3 separate regions of the Homo sapiens genome follow, and all the other regions are linked to region 3. Evidence: promoter capture Hi-C in human tissues and cell types (Jung and others, 2019). All regions are on one chromosome and are shown on one strand. Each heading gives the region's core, a stretch centred on a gene start or on the middle of the fragment in contact. The rest is flanking DNA. Distances are from core to core; before and after follow the strand shown. Region 1 has its middle 21 kb from the start of KIF1A. Region 2 overlaps SNED1 (sushi, nidogen and EGF like domains 1). Region 3 holds the start of ING5 (inhibitor of growth family member 5).

Region 1 (4,489 bases), core at 1,491-3,990, 860 kb before region 3:
ACTTTGGGAGGCCGAGGAGGATGGATCACCTGAGGTGAAGAGTTCAAGACCAGCCTGGCCAACCTGGCCAAACCCCATCTCTACTAAAAATATAAAAATTAGCCAGGCGTGGTGGCACATGCCTGTAATCCCAGCTGCTCGGGAGGCTGAGGCAGAGAATCGCTTGAACTTGGGAGGCGGAGGTTGCAGTGAGCTGAGATTGTGCCATTGCACTCCAGCCTGGGCAACAGAGCAAGATTCTGACAAAAAAAAAAAAAGGTGCATAATGAGAAGAAAATTGAAGCAAGTCAAAGAGAAATTACTAGAGGAGTCTTACCTATGCTATGGCAAATCAACCTAACAACTTTAAGGCCATAATAATTAAAACAACTCAATATTGGCAAGGGAACCAACAAAAAGATAAATGATAGAGGTAGCACATGCTAAGGGCGGGATTTCAAACTAGTAGGGGAAAGGCTCAACCTTCTCAGCTGCACTTGGGTGAAGGATCTCTGGAGAGGGAAAGTCAGGAACCCTCCCTGCTCCATGCACAAGCCCAGTGGACTAAAACCTAACCTAAGAACAGAAACTCCGGAGCAAGTGGGTGAGTGGGTAAATCAGCGAGAACCAGCTCTTTCCCAATGCCTCACCCACATGGAGGCCCATGGCCAGGGTTGGCTTTGTCTGATGGATGCGGGACACCCTCGGCCAGCAGGGGCCCAGGCGCGGCTGGAGACTGGAGGCCAGCTGAGCAGAAAAGCCAGGCCCTGCAGCGAAGCCTGATCAGAGGCAGCTCCCCCTCCCCGAGCCTGCGTGCTGCAGATGGGTGCTGGCTGGTGACACCATCCCTGACCGTGCAGGGCAGCCATCGGCGGGGATAGCCCATGTGTGCATACGGTTGGATGACTCAGAGTCAGTCCCAAGCCGGAGGCCTCTCACCCACAGCTGAAGTTTGATGTTGGATCTGTGCCTCACCGCAGTGTGGCCTGGAGTTCCAGGATGCTAACATTCACGAGCCTATGCAGTGCCCCCATGGCACTTTCAGAGGAAGGCACTGAGGGTTGAGCTGGACACATCTCCTGATCCCAGGGCCCCTGCCTCCTCGTCTCCATCAGGGGTTCTCAGAGGCGGCTGGGCACCTGGTGCACCCGGGCTGGCCACCGTGTTGTTAAATGCACCCCAGAGTTCCTGGGGCTCAGCCTGAGTCGGAGCCGCTGGTCAGAATTACCTCCAGTGCCCCGCACTGTGAGGGGGAGTGTGGCTTCTGGGAAAAAAGAGGCGCCATCTGCATAGAGCAGCCCTCTCTCCCTCTCCCCTCGTCCCCTTCTGTGGTCCCAGCTCCTGTGCAGGTCACCAGAGAGTGACTTTCCCTGAAGCCCACACTGGCGGCTCCTACCCTGGTAAGGAGGGGGCACACCTGGGTCCGGTTCCCAGGTAGTGTCTACTCAATGCTAGCTGTGTGGCTCCGGGCAGGGCTCCCTCTCTCCAGCCTCAGTTTCCCCATCTGTAAACTGGAGAGTCTTTTAGAGGCCACAACCTCGGATGACCCTTCTGCCACTCAGGCTCCATCAAAGGGTCTGCAGTTCTGCTTCCATCCAAGGGAGCACAGCACGCAAGGGACTTAACTCAGACTCAAGGTCAGAAGATGACCTGCAGAAACAGAACCAGCAGCAGGAGCAGCTGAGATGGAAGCTTTCCTTAGATCTTGGCAGAAGAGAAGTTGACCTTGGAGGAAGGAGTTTGGGGATCAATTCCCTTTTCCTCTGTTATTCAAGAGGACGTGTGGGGAGCTAAGAGGCCAGTCCAGATGCCGCCAATGCCGCTGTGTGCAAAGCTGTCTCTGAGAGCAAACGTGGGGCTTGGTGGCCGTGAGCTGGCCACACTGAGCATCTCTTCCAGGCAAATTCTGTCTCCCCCAGCCCCAGGTGCAATCACTGGGCCATGACTGGAGAAATTGAGTGGGGAGGTGTGGAGAAGGCATCCTGGCAACAGCAGGGGCAGTCGTGACCCATGGAGGACACCCTGTGTGGACCCGTAAGGGGGAGCTGCAGACACCATGGACAGCGAGTTCCCTGGGCTGGTCAGCAGGGGACAAGGATCCCAGCAATCCATGGCCTGAGCTCACAGGCCTGGAGGGCTCCAAACAGCCTCCCCAGTGCCACCTGCTGGGAAAAAGAATTAGAACCAGGGATGCATCTAAAACTGACAGGAAAGGTTAGACAGGAGCTCCCAACAGGGCGAGTGTGCCTCGGGATCCACAGCCCAGGCCCCCTCCCCATGGGGGAGGCTGTCCCCACCCAGGCCCAGGTGCCCACAGAAGTGTGGCCTTCCCGGGAGGATCCAGCTGTCGCTGGGTGGCCAACACGCCTCTTCTCAGGGTGCCTGGACACATGCTCCTGAGGCATGCCCCCCTGGGCTGAGCACAGGGAGCCCCACCTCAAAGCTGAAGCCCCATCAGTGCAGCCACATAGGTGCCTGGGTCCAGCTGGCCTCATCTCCTCCAGGCCAGCCTCCCCAGCTGCTCTTCTCCGTTTACAGGAGGGACCCTTGGATAGGTCACTCCCTGTTCCATGCCTCTGTTTCCTCATCTGTAAACGGGAAATAACACAGAATTTCCTCAAGGGGCTGCAAGGACTGGCTGAGTTCTGTAAAATGTGGAGGACAGGGCACACCGATGGCTCATTCCCATGACTCCTGGGCTTCTAGGATGGACAGGAATCCAGCTTCCCAGCTGGGCTTCTGGTTTCGGCCCTTCCCTGATGGATCTGGCATGGGAGGGCCCACTTCCTTCCAGGATCTGCCTGTGGCCTGTGCTCCTGGTCGGGCCAGCAAGAATGAACTTATTCTCAGGGTCCCCCCATCTCCCAGCCTCCTTGCAGCCTCCTGGGCCACATCTGCAGTCTCAGGGACTCGAAGCCCTGCGGGGAGAGGTCAGCGGGAGGCCTGTGACCTCAGAACACCTCTCCACCCACAGGCACCAGATCTGGGGGCAGCCCAGGAGGGGCTAGGACATTCCTAGGGCCCTGAGGGATGTGGGCTGGGAGCTGGCCCTCAGGGCTACCAGGTGAAGGTCTGGGCTGGGCTTTGGGGAAAGGAATCCGGGGGTCTGTTCTGAGGAAGGGAGGTCTTTTGCCTGGGGTGACCCTTCATAGAGCACTCTCTCCTGTCCCACCAGGAATTAGGTGAGGCCTTAGGCTTCAAGCCTACTGGGGTTGTAAGGGAGAATGAAAATCTTTCCTTTCACCCTCTGAAGTTTCCCTGAAAAAATGAACCGACAGAAAGCAGATTAACAGGAGAAAAGGCATACAAATTTATTAATGTACACAGGAGTCAGGGAAATAGAACTCAAAGAGGCTGGGCACGGTGGCTCATGCCTGTAATCCTAGCACTTTGGGAGGCTGAGGTGGGTGGATGGCTTAAGCTCAGGAGTTTGAGACCAGCCTGGGTGAAACCCCATCTCTACCAAAAAAAAAAAAAAAAAATTAGCTGGGCTTGGTGGCACGTGCCTGTGGTCCCAGCTACTTGGGAGGCTGAAGTGGGAGGATCACTTGAGCCTGGGGGTTGGCGGCTACAGTGAGCTTAGATGGCGCCACTACACTCCAGCCTGGGTGATAGAGCAAGACCCCCTCTCAAAAAAAAAAAAAAGAACTCAAAGAAAGGCAGGATAGTTGCTGTTTTTATACCACCTTGAGATTTGTAAACCAAGAATAAAGTCCTAAGCCCTTTCAACCAACTGACTAGACCCCGTTATATATATAAAGTTTGGTGCCGCAAAAGGAATAGCACTCGAATATAAAATTTTATTTTTAATTCTCAGCAAGGTAAGTTACTGCTATAGAAGGATGTACCCTTAGAGATGGAGCAATGGTGAGCGCACACCTGGACAAGGGAGGGGAAGCGGGTCTTAACCCTGAAGGATGTGGCCCCTGCTGCTGTGTGGTTCCGCTACTGGCTAGGGTTAGACCGCACAGGCTAAACTAATTCTGACCGGCTAATTTAAAAGGAGTGATGGGGTGAGTGCTTTGGCGGGAAAAATGGTTATGACAGAGCAGGTAATCAGAATGAGTCGGGGGGAGCAGGTGATCGGAATGAGTCAGGGTGGAATAGGTAATCAGAATGAGTCGGGGGGAGCAGGTGATCGGAATGAGTCTGGGTGAAGTAGGTAATCAGAATGAGTCGGGGGAGCAGGTGATCGGAATGAGTCAGGGGGAGCAGGTAATCAGAATGAGTCGGGGGAGCAGGTGATCGGAATGAGTCTGGGTGAAGTAGGTAATCAGAATGAGTCGGGGGAGCAGGTGATCGGAATGAGTCAGGGTGGAGTAGGTAATCAGAATGAGTCGGGGGGAGCAGGTGATCGGAATGAGTCTGGGTGAAGTAGGTAATCAGAATGAGTCGGGGGAGCAGGTAATCAGAATGAGTCAGGGTGGAGTAGGTAATCAGAATGAGTCGGGGGGAGCAGGTGATCGGAATGAGTCTGGGTGAAGTAGGTAATCAGAATGAGTCGGGGGAG
Region 2 (5,020 bases), core at 2,378-4,877, 620 kb before region 3:
CCAAGACTGAAGCAGGATGTGGACAAAATAAGCCCAGGACATGTTGTGTAAAAAGCAAGCAAGCTTTCAAAACAGCAGACCATGTCCTGAGGGCGGGGAGCCAACCTGAAGGGCTCCCGCTGTCCAAAGACAGAATAAATTGAGCATCAGGAAAACAACTGACAGCAATGGACGGAAGCCCATGAAATATACCAATATCTCTGTGTTCATCGTGATGCTCAGAAAGAAGAAGCAACCTAGTGGGCAACTTTGGAGCTTGCTGAGGACCAACTCGGTCTGCAGGCACACAAGCAAAGGAGCAGGGTGGAGCCTTCACGCTGCCGTGCCTGTGTGGACCAGTCCAGGGTGACCACGGGGTAGGTGAGGGAAAGCCTGTCTTCACAGACCACTCTCCAGCTGGTGAGGGCAGGAGCGACAGGGACAGACACAGGTCTGTGAGAGGACAGCCCTTGGATCAGGGATCTCGATGTCTTGCTCGAGCCATCAGGTGCAAGGCCCGTGGGGACTTTTTTCTGGGTTGGTCAGGCTGCCAGCACTGGACCAGTGACCAGTCCTCGTGTCACTCGAGTGGGACTTGGACACATCACAGGCCGCCTGGGCTGGCTGGGGGTGCACACGCATCCCTGGGCAGCAGCCCTGCAAAGACCATCTGAACCTAAATCCTATCAAGCACCTCTCTCTAGTGAGAGTTCACAGGAAACACAGGGGTGGGATCAAGTGAGCAGTAAGTCACATCCATTAGAGCACCAGGAGGGACCTCAGGATCCAAGCAGCAGAAACCGTGTTCAGGGGCAAAGCCAGCAAGGGTCGGGGTGGGGAGGGGCCACAGGCCAGTGGGGGCTCAGCACTGAAGGCCCCGCTCCTCCCTCCCTCTCCCTCCTCCTTCTCCTCCTCCTTGTTTTTGTTTGTCTTCCTTCCTTCCAGTAATGAGGTCAGGGCCGAGCACACTGCGGCCTGTCTCCTCACCTCTGCTCTCTCTCAACACCTGAACTGGGACCACGCTCTAGGGCCCAGAGGCGTTTGGGAGGCCACCGCAGCACACCACAGAGGAGTGCACGGCCACCCTGCATCAGGTCATCAAGGAAGGGACAGCAACATGTCCATGAGGCAGGCCTGTCCTGGGGTTCCAGTGACTAACCTCTCGTGACCTCTGTTTCCAGACGTCCCTGGCAACTGTTCAGAAAACCCCTGTCAGAACGGAGGCACTTGTGTGCCGGGCGCAGACGCCCACAGCTGTGACTGCGGGCCAGGGTTCAAAGGCAGACGCTGCGAGCTCGGTAAGTCGGGGCTTGGCCTCAGGGCGCCCCTTCCAACACAGCCTGTGCCTCAGCCTAGGACTGCTGGGCCACAGCTGGGTTTGCCACGGGAGCCTCCAAACGATGAGGTGCCAGACAGGGAGTCTGGTGCACGGGGCTGACCCCTGAGCCCCCAGGGGCTGCGCTGCTGCCCCAAGCACCAGGATGAGAGGTGCTGCCCATCACGGGGGTCAGAACAGCCACAGCATGCGAGGCACAGCTTCGGAGGGCTCCCTGACCCAGCCAGAGCGGTGTCAGGAGAAGGGACTCTCCACCCCCACAATACCAACCCACCCCGGCCTTAGAGGAAGCCAGCTGCAGACCCCCGGGCCCTCTCCCACCATCCCGCCTTGGAGGAAGCCAGCCTAAGGACCCCCGGGCCCTCTCCCTTGGGCAAGGCCTCTCAAGAGGGGCAGGAGGAGCCGTCAGGAGCACCTGGTGAGCCACTGCCCTTCTTTGTCGCAGCCTGTATAAAGGTGTCCCGCCCCTGCACAAGGCTGTTCTCCGAGACAAAGGCCTTTCCAGTCTGGGAGGGAGGCGTCTGTCACCACGTGTAAGTTGGTTTCTGTCCTCCGCCTTACCGCATTTGTCGTGTGTTCTTGACTCCTCAAAGTGCTGTCTCAAAGCTACCCAGCTAACCCTGAGGAGGGACGATGGCTGCAGTCACAGAAGGGACTTGCTTTGACCATCGATTCCCTCCATGTCACAAATTAGGCAGCTGAGGCAGAAAAACCGAATAACTGCCCCAAGTCCATGCAGCTCAGGAGCAGGGGCTGAGAAGAACGCAGGCTCCTGGTCCCCAGGCCCCCAGGCCTTCCTTCCCACACATCAGCCCAGTCCCCACTGGATGGCAGAGCCAACTGATGTGACCTTCCTCTCTTCTCTTCCTCAGAGCCCCCTGGAAAAACAAACAGCTCATGAGAATGCCGGCCCCAGTTCTGCCATTAACTCATGATGTGGCCTTAGGCCCCCCATCTCCAAAATGGGCTGTGGAGGGAGAGATGCCCAGCCCATCTCTTAGGTCCTTTCTTGCTAACACTCTATGACTCTGTCGGTCACACAGTCCATTTAGTCAACAGATGACTTACTGAGCACCTGCTGTGTGCCGGGCACTGTCCATTTAGTCAACAGATGACTTACTGAGTACCTGCTGTGTGCCGGGCACTGTTCTAGATACTCAGCACACATCAGAACAGAGCAGACCAAAGCCCTGCCTTCAGGACCCGTTCATTGCAGATGAGGGGACAGACAACAGACAGCAGTGAGAGTGTGGTGTGTGGTGTGGCAGGTGGTGAGTGCAAAGGGAAAAAGGACGAGATGACAGGACGAGACCAGGAGAGCCTGCTGGGGATGGGCAGGGCTGGTGCAGCAAGAGGGCAGCCTCCTGGGGAGGGCGATGCTGAACAGACATGGAGGAGGGATGGACATTCCAGAGCCAGAGGACAGTTACCAGGGCCCCAAGTCAGGAGTGTCCCTGGCATGTTGGGGGAGAAGTGGAGAGTGGTGAGAGGTGAGGGACAGGGAACCCTCGGGGCCATGGAGACCCACAGAAGGACTCTGGTGTTTGTCCGGCATGAAATGGGGAGGAGCTACTGAAGGGTTCTGAGCAGAAGAGTGACATGTTCGATTACACTACTTTGGATGCTCTGTGGAGAATGGGATGTAGACGGGCAAGGGTAGAAGCTTCATTAGAGCTTGGACATGAAGCCAGGTGTAATATGTAGCAGGAACACATATGAGATACTAATCTGTGTTGGGATTTGGGAAGCCGTGTTGACAGCCCACTGAATTCGGATTCTATGCAGTGAGAGTCCGAATCCACAGTATCTGCCATCTTCCCGCTGTGCTTAGTTACACCAGTGCCTGCTGGTGACCACCAAGTATCCAACAAGAAGACCCTTCACTTCCTGAAAGCATTCTATCCTTTCACTTTTAACCTATCTGCATATTTCAAGTGACTTTCTAGTATTTAACATAGAGGTGGGTCTTGCTGGATATCTAGTCTGACAGTCTGGTTTTTATTGGAGTATTTAGACCATTTACTACCTTCCACATAATGGCTGATGTGGTTGGATTTAAACTGCCATATTACTATTTGTTTTCTATTTTTCCCACCTGCTTTTTGTTCCTTTTTTCTTTTTTCCTGCCTAATTTTGGATTACTTTTTAGGATTCCATTTTGTCTCCACTATGGGCTTACTGGTTATACTTCTTAGGTTTATTGTTTAGAGGTTGCTCTGGGATTTGCCATACACATCTTCACCTTAACACAATGTACCCTTAATTACTATTGTACGAGTTCAATATGATGGCAGCGTCTAGGATTTTTTTTTTTTTTTTTTTGAGACAAAGTCTCCCTCTTGTCCCCCAGGCTGGAGTGCGATGGTGCGATCTTGGCTCATCGCAACCTCTGCCTCCTGGGTTCAAGCAATTCTCCTGCCTCAGCCCCCCGAGTAGCTGGGATTACAGGCGCCTGCCACCACACCCTGCTAATTTTTGTATTTTTAGTAGAGACAAAGTTTACGTAGAGACAGGGTTTCACCATGTTGGCCAGGCTGGTCTCAAACTCATGACCTCAGGTGATCCACCCACCTTGCCCTCCCAAAGTGCTGGGATTACAGGCGTGAGTGACTGTGCCCGGCCAGCAGTGTCTAGGATTTACCATACACATCTTCAACTTCACGCCGCATACCTTTAATCACTAGTAGACAACTTCAGTATCCATGGCAGCGGCTGACATCAAGCTTCCACTTCCCTCCCATCCTTTGAATTATTATCAGACTTTTTCCTTCCACATATGCTGTGAACTGCACTATACGTTATTTTTGCACTCAAAAATTATCTTGTTTTAGATATTGAAAGTAAAGTATTTTGTATTTATTGTACATCTGCCTGCCGACTCCAGCACTCTTCATTCCTTTTTGTAGATCTAGGATTCCATCTGGTATCATTTCTCTTTGCCATAAGAACTTAACTCTAACATCTCCTATAGCACAGGTCTGCAGGAGATGAATTCTCTCTGCTTTTGTCTGAAACTATTTTTTTTTCACCTTCATTTTTGAAGAATATATTTGCTGAATATAGACTTCTTGATTGACAGTTATATTTTTTTCTTTCATGACTTAAAAGTTGTCATGGCTTTGTCTTCTGGCTTGCATAGTTCCAGACAAGAAGACTGCAGTCATTCTTACCTGTGTTACACTGTATGGAATGTGTCTTCCTGCCCCTTTTATGTTTTCCCTTTATGACTGTTTTTGGACAATTTAATTATGATGTGCTTCTCGGTATGGCTACGTTTTGATTCTCTGGAGTTTAAGCTTCTTGTATTTCTGGGTTTTAATTTTGTCAAACTTCGTAAAATTTTTGCCATTATTTCTTCATATATTTTTCCTGTCCCTCCATTTCTTCTACTTCTGGGACTCCAGTTATGCGTGTATTAGACTGATATTGTCCCACAGGTCACTGCAGCTCTTCTCAACTTTTTCAGTCTTTTCATTTTGGACAGATTCTATTGCTATGCACTCAAGGTCATTGATCTTTTCTTCTGCAGCATCTACCATTAATCCTGTTCAACAAAAGTTTTATTAATACTGTGTTTTATCATCTCCAGAAGTTTCATTTAGTTGTTTCTTAGATGCTCCAATTTCTATCTTCATTATCTTTATATTTTCCTTTAGCTCACTGAACATGTGGAACAAATTTATAATAGATATTTTAAGGTCCTCA
Region 3 (4,943 bases), core at 1,648-4,147:
AGGCTCCCGAGCAGCTGAGATTGCAGGCCCATGCCCACCACGCCTGGCTAATTTTGTATTTTTAGTAGAGACTGGGTTTCTCCATGTTGGTCAGGCTGGTCTCAAACTCCTGACCTCAGGTGATCCACCCACCTCATCCTTCCAAAGTGCTGGGATTACAGGCGTGAGCCACCATGCCTGGCCTGAATTTTTATAATGAACATAATAGTGGCAAAAACATTGTTTCTGGTTTTCAATATTTGACTGGGGTTTAGGGAAGAGTCCACCAAGGGGGACATAGCTTGTTTTTTTAGGTGGGGGTCTCCGTCACCCAGGCAAGAGTACAGTGGTTTGATCATGGCTCACTGCAGCCTAGACCTCCTGGGCTCAAGCCATCCTCCCGCCTCAGCCTCTCATGGTGATCATACGGATTTGAGTCACAGCAGCTGGCTTAATATCTTTAAAAATGCATTTTAAATAATGAAAGTACTGCTCCTTTGATCAGCTTATGCTAATTTGTGTGACCAGCAACGTTGCATCTCGGAAGTCAAGGATGTGGCTGGGGGTGGGGCGGGGGGTTCTGGGGCCTACACGTTACATCTAGTGGTCATCAGTTCTTGGGGCTCGGGGAGCCTTTGGGACGTCCTCTTGAGATCACAGGGAGTGGAGACAGGACTGGGAAGTGACACACCTCACCCATGAAAGACCTGCCAGAGATGAGTTTGATCCCCAGCTTGGGGGCGTCCAGTGGTGAAGTGGGAAGAGGAGTGACATGGGTACTGGTGAGCACTGCATGATGATGCTACACAGTTTGGAGGCAGAGAAGAATCACCCCAAAGACTAATATTTAAACACTTTAAATTATTTTATTTTATATTTTAAGATGGAGTCTCGCTCTGTCACCCAGGCTGGAGTGCAGTGGCACGATCTCGGCTCACTGCAACCTCCACGTACCAGGTTCAAGTGATTCTCCTTCCTCAGCCTCCTGGGTAGCTGGGATTACAGGCACCAGCCATTATGCCCGGCTAAGTTTTTTTTTTTTTTTTTTTTTTTTGGGACGGAGTGTTGCTCTGTCGCCCAGGCTGGAGTGCAATGGCACGATCTCGGCTCACCGCAAGCTCAGCCTCCCGGGTTCACGCCATTCTCCTGCCTCGGCCGCCCGAGTAGCTGGGATTACAGGCGCCCGCCACCATGCCCAGCTAATTTTTTTGTAGTTTTAGTAGAGATGGGGTTTCACCGTGTTAGGCAGGATGGTCTCAATCTCCTGACCTCGTGATCCTCCCGCCTTGGCCTCCCAAAGTGCTGGAATTACAGGAGTGAGCCACCGCGCCTGCCCTATTTTATTTTATTTTTGAGATGGAATCTTGCTCTGCTGGCCAGGCTGGAGTGCAGTGGTGCAATCTCGGCTCACTGCAACCTCCGCCTCCCAAGCTCAAGCGATTCTCCTGTTTCAGCCTCCCGAGTATCTGGGATTACAGGTACTTGCCACCATGCCCGGCTAGTTTTTGTATTATTATTATTTTGAGACGGAGTCTTGCTCTTGTCACCCAAGCTGCAGTGCAGTTACATGATCTCTTCTCACTGCAACCTCCCTCTCCCAAGTTCAAGTAATTTTCCTGCCTCAGTCTCCGAGTAGCTGGGAGTACAGGCGCCCGCCACCACGCCCGGGTAATTTTTGTATTTTTAGTAGAGACATGATTTCGCCACGTTGGCCAGGCTGGTCTCAAATTCCTGCCCTCAAGTGATCCGCCCGCCTCGGCCTCCCAAAGTGTTGGGATTACAGGCGTGAGCCACCGTGCCGAGTCTGAAACATATTTTAATTATGTTTCTCCAGTATTTTTTTTTTCTTAAAATTTTCTTTTTTTTTTTTGAAGACAGAGTCTTGCTCTGTCGCCCAGGCTGGAGTGCAGACGCGATCTCAGCTCACTACAACCTCCGCCTCCCGGGCTCAGCCTCCGGAGTAGCTGGGACTACAGGCGTGCGCCACCACGCTTGGCTAATTTTTTTTTTTTTTTGTATTTTTAGTAGAGTCGGGGTTTCAACACGTTGGCCAGGCTGGTCTCAAATTCCTGCCCTCAAGTGATCCGCCCGCCTCGGCCTCCCAAAGTGATGGGATTACAGGCGTGCGCCAGCGCGCCGGCCTTCTCCAGTATTTTTGCATGCATCTTACGGCACACCTTTGCACGCCATCTTATTAACTATATCATACTGCCGCACGTGCCTTTTCGGCCAAGGCATCCAGATGGTGCGGGTCCTGCCTGCCTCGAGAGGTGGCAGCAAAGGAGCCAGTGCCCTCACTGGTGCTGGGCGGGGCGGCCGCTTTCCTCGGAGGGAAGGGGCGGCGTTGGCGGGGGAAGGGCGCCAGGGCCCAGGCCCTGAGGGAGGGGCAGCTCGCCCGGGCCACGCGGTGCCGGCCCTCGGCTCAGGCCGGGCTGAGGCCCCGGGGGCTCGGGGTCCGGGGGAAAGGCGCTGAGCCAGACAGGTCCCAAGGAGCCTTCGGGAAGGGAGGGCCTCGTGGCGGCCTGTCCGGGACCCGGCCGGGAGCAGGGGTCGCGTGGGCGCCGTCAGGACGGGCGTGAGGTCCCCGGGACCACGTGTTTGCGTTTGGTGGCCCAGGGGTCGCTGACAGGTGCGGAGGGGAGACGCCCACCTGGGTGCCCTGGGCCGCACGCCGGGCGGTGGGGCCGGGAACCCCTGCTCCTCCTCGGCCTCCGATCCGCTGCGGCCCTGGGTCCTGCTCGCTGCCCGACGCCGCTGCCACAACCTCCGCCCGGGCCCCGCAGCCCGCCGCCCGCCGGAAGCTGAAAGGCGTGTCCGACCCCGCCCCCGGGCGCGACCAATCAGCGCGCGCGACTCATGAATAGTGAGCGCGCTGGCACCGCCCCGCCCCCGCCTCCCGCGGCACCGCCCGCCCGCGCAGACCCCGAGCGCGGCCGCGGACGAAGATGGCGACCGCCATGTACTTGGAGCACTATCTGGACAGTAAGCGCGCCCCACGGGCCCCGCGCCCGCCGCCCACGCGGAGTCCTCCGTGCCGCAGCCCCCCGCGCGCCGGGCACCGCATGCAGACCCCGTGGGCTCGGGAGGGCGGCGGGCGCGGCCGGGCGCGACGGGGGGCGCGCGGACGGGGCGGGGCAGGGCCGCAAGGGAGGGGAGGGCGCGGGGGGCGGGCGCGGGGGGTCCCGCCGGCTGGGTCGCGCCAATTCCAGGTGCGTCACGGCGGGGCGGGGCCTGGCGATGCTGGGCGGGGCTTGCGGCCTCGACCCCGCCCACATATTAGGTCCCGCCCCTACCCAGGCCCCGCCTCATCTCCGCCCCCAGCTCCGGCCCCGGCCCCGCCAGGTCCCGCCCGTCCCTGTCCCGTCTGCAGGAGGAGCTGGCGCCCGCTGCGGGGCTCCGGGCCTTGGGGGCTCCGGGGTCTGGGCCTCCGCCTGGCTGTGCGCCCGTGTGCGCCGGCCTCTTGTGTGACCGCGGCTGGGGAGGGCGTGCGGGCCGCGGGGCGTCTCTCCCCGGCACTGGGGACTGCGGCGCGGAGGCGGGGAGGGCGGTGCCGAGTCGGCCCTGGTGGGCGGGCTGTGCTGTTTCCAGGTGGCAGCAGGTCGGCGCCCCCAGCGGCTGAGCGGACGGTGCTTTCCCTCACTTTACACACCAGGGAAGGTCCAGCGCTGCCGAGCAGCCTGCTCAGGGTCTCCCGCTCGTAGAGGGGCAGACCCCACGCGGGACCCCTGACGTCGGCCCGGGATGGGCACAGCTTTGGGGTCGCGGTGTTTGGGGTTGTGCCGGGTGGCTCTGGAGGGCCCTTGTGGGGGCGCTGCACTGGGGATCCTCATGGTCTTCGGCCTGGCACCCGCCCAGGGGCTGAGACAGTGGCGAGTGAGCCGTGGCCTGGAGCTGGAGACCGCTGCCCTAGAGGGACGCCCGATTCTGCCCATGTGCTCCGCTGTCTCTTGGGGGTCTGAGTAGTGGGGGGTTCCCTGGGTAGAAGAGTCAAGCTGGGGAGCACGCTGGAGGGGAGGCCTTCTCTATCCTGGTGCCCAGCCAGTGGGCTGGCCTCCCAAGGAGGGTTGACTTTGTGTGTGTCTGGGAGGCTGTGCCAGCCGGGAGGCTGTGCCTCTGTCCTCTAGGGGAGCTGGGAAAACACTGGGGCTGGAAGCATCAGATGCATAAGATAGAGTTAGGTTTAAAATGATTGCCTGGTAACTGTGAACAGCAGATGGGAGGGTGGCCAAGACTGGAGGAGGCAGCCCCCCTTAGGAGCCTGTGTCAGCTGTGCAGGGGGCGGAGGTTGGCCTGGTCTAGGGGGTAACAAAGCAGACGCGAAAGCAGCACGGGGGTCCTCCTGGCAGACTGTGGGGAATGGTTGCGCTAGCCACAGGGACTATTTAAGTAAAATTAAAAATTGAATGGCGTTAGTCCCATTTCCAGTGCTCAGTAGCTCCCTATGGCCACCACTGTCTTGGGCAGCTCAGAGAGAACATTTCTTTTCTTTTTCTTTTTTTGATTTTTTTTGAAATGGAGTCTCACCCTGTTGCCCAGGTTGGAGGGTATGATCTCAGCACACTGCAACCTCCACCTCCCAGGTTCAAGCAATTCTCATGCCCTAGCCTCTCGAGTAGCTGGGACTGTAGCTGTGCACCACCACGCCTGGATAATTTTTGTATTTTTAGTAGAGACAGGGTTTCACCATGTTGGCCAGGCTGGTCTTGAACTCCTGACCTCAACTGATTTGCCTGTCTTGATCTCCCAAAGTGCTGGGATTACAGGTATGAGCCACCACGCCCATCCGAGAGAGGAAACATTTCTATCCTTGCATAAAGTCGCGTGGGCAGCGTGGCTACACTGCTCAATGCACTGGATTTCTGGGTAAAGTAGGGGAAGATCAAGGAGGACCCAGGGGATTTTGGCTTGAGCCTTGGAAGATGCTGCTCACTGAGGGGGGGCAGCCTAGAGGGTGGGGTCAGTTG

What was found. The method cuts DNA at HindIII sites, captures the fragments that hold promoters and counts their contacts. A contact is called where the count stands out against the background at its distance.
Region 1: a contact is called between a fragment that was not itself captured here and the fragment with the promoter of ING5 in region 3, in 1 of the 25 tissues and cell types used here (spleen).
Region 2: a contact is called between a fragment that was not itself captured here and the fragment with the promoter of ING5 in region 3, in 2 of the 25 tissues and cell types used here (lymphoblastoid cells and spleen).

The regions. Positions count from the first base shown.
Region 1 is chr2:240,838,531-240,843,019 of GRCh38, forward strand. No RefSeq gene overlaps it. Among named protein-coding and RNA genes, the nearest start is that of KIF1A, 21 kb to the left of the region's middle. RefSeq lists an enhancer at 663-1,163. The HindIII fragment of the contact is 4,124 bases long and covers 679-4,489 here.
Region 2 is chr2:241,080,517-241,085,536 of GRCh38, forward strand. It overlaps SNED1 (sushi, nidogen and EGF like domains 1), which reads left to right. Exons shown (of 32, transcript NM_001080437.3): 28 at 1,161-1,277; 29 at 1,761-1,848. It also overlaps a transcript of MTERF4 not described here. Among named protein-coding and RNA genes, the nearest start is that of SNED1-AS1, 19 kb to the left of the region's middle. The HindIII fragment of the contact is 4,214 bases long and covers 1,521-5,020 here.
Region 3 is chr2:241,699,142-241,704,084 of GRCh38, forward strand. ING5 (inhibitor of growth family member 5) reads left to right here and starts at 2,898. Exons shown (of 8, transcript NM_032329.6): 1 at 2,898-2,961. The coding sequence starts at 2,925. RefSeq lists silencers at 2,192-3,011, 2,754-2,917, 3,102-3,661 and enhancers at 2,316-3,148, 3,387-4,016. The HindIII fragment of the contact is 25,906 bases long and covers 1-4,943 here.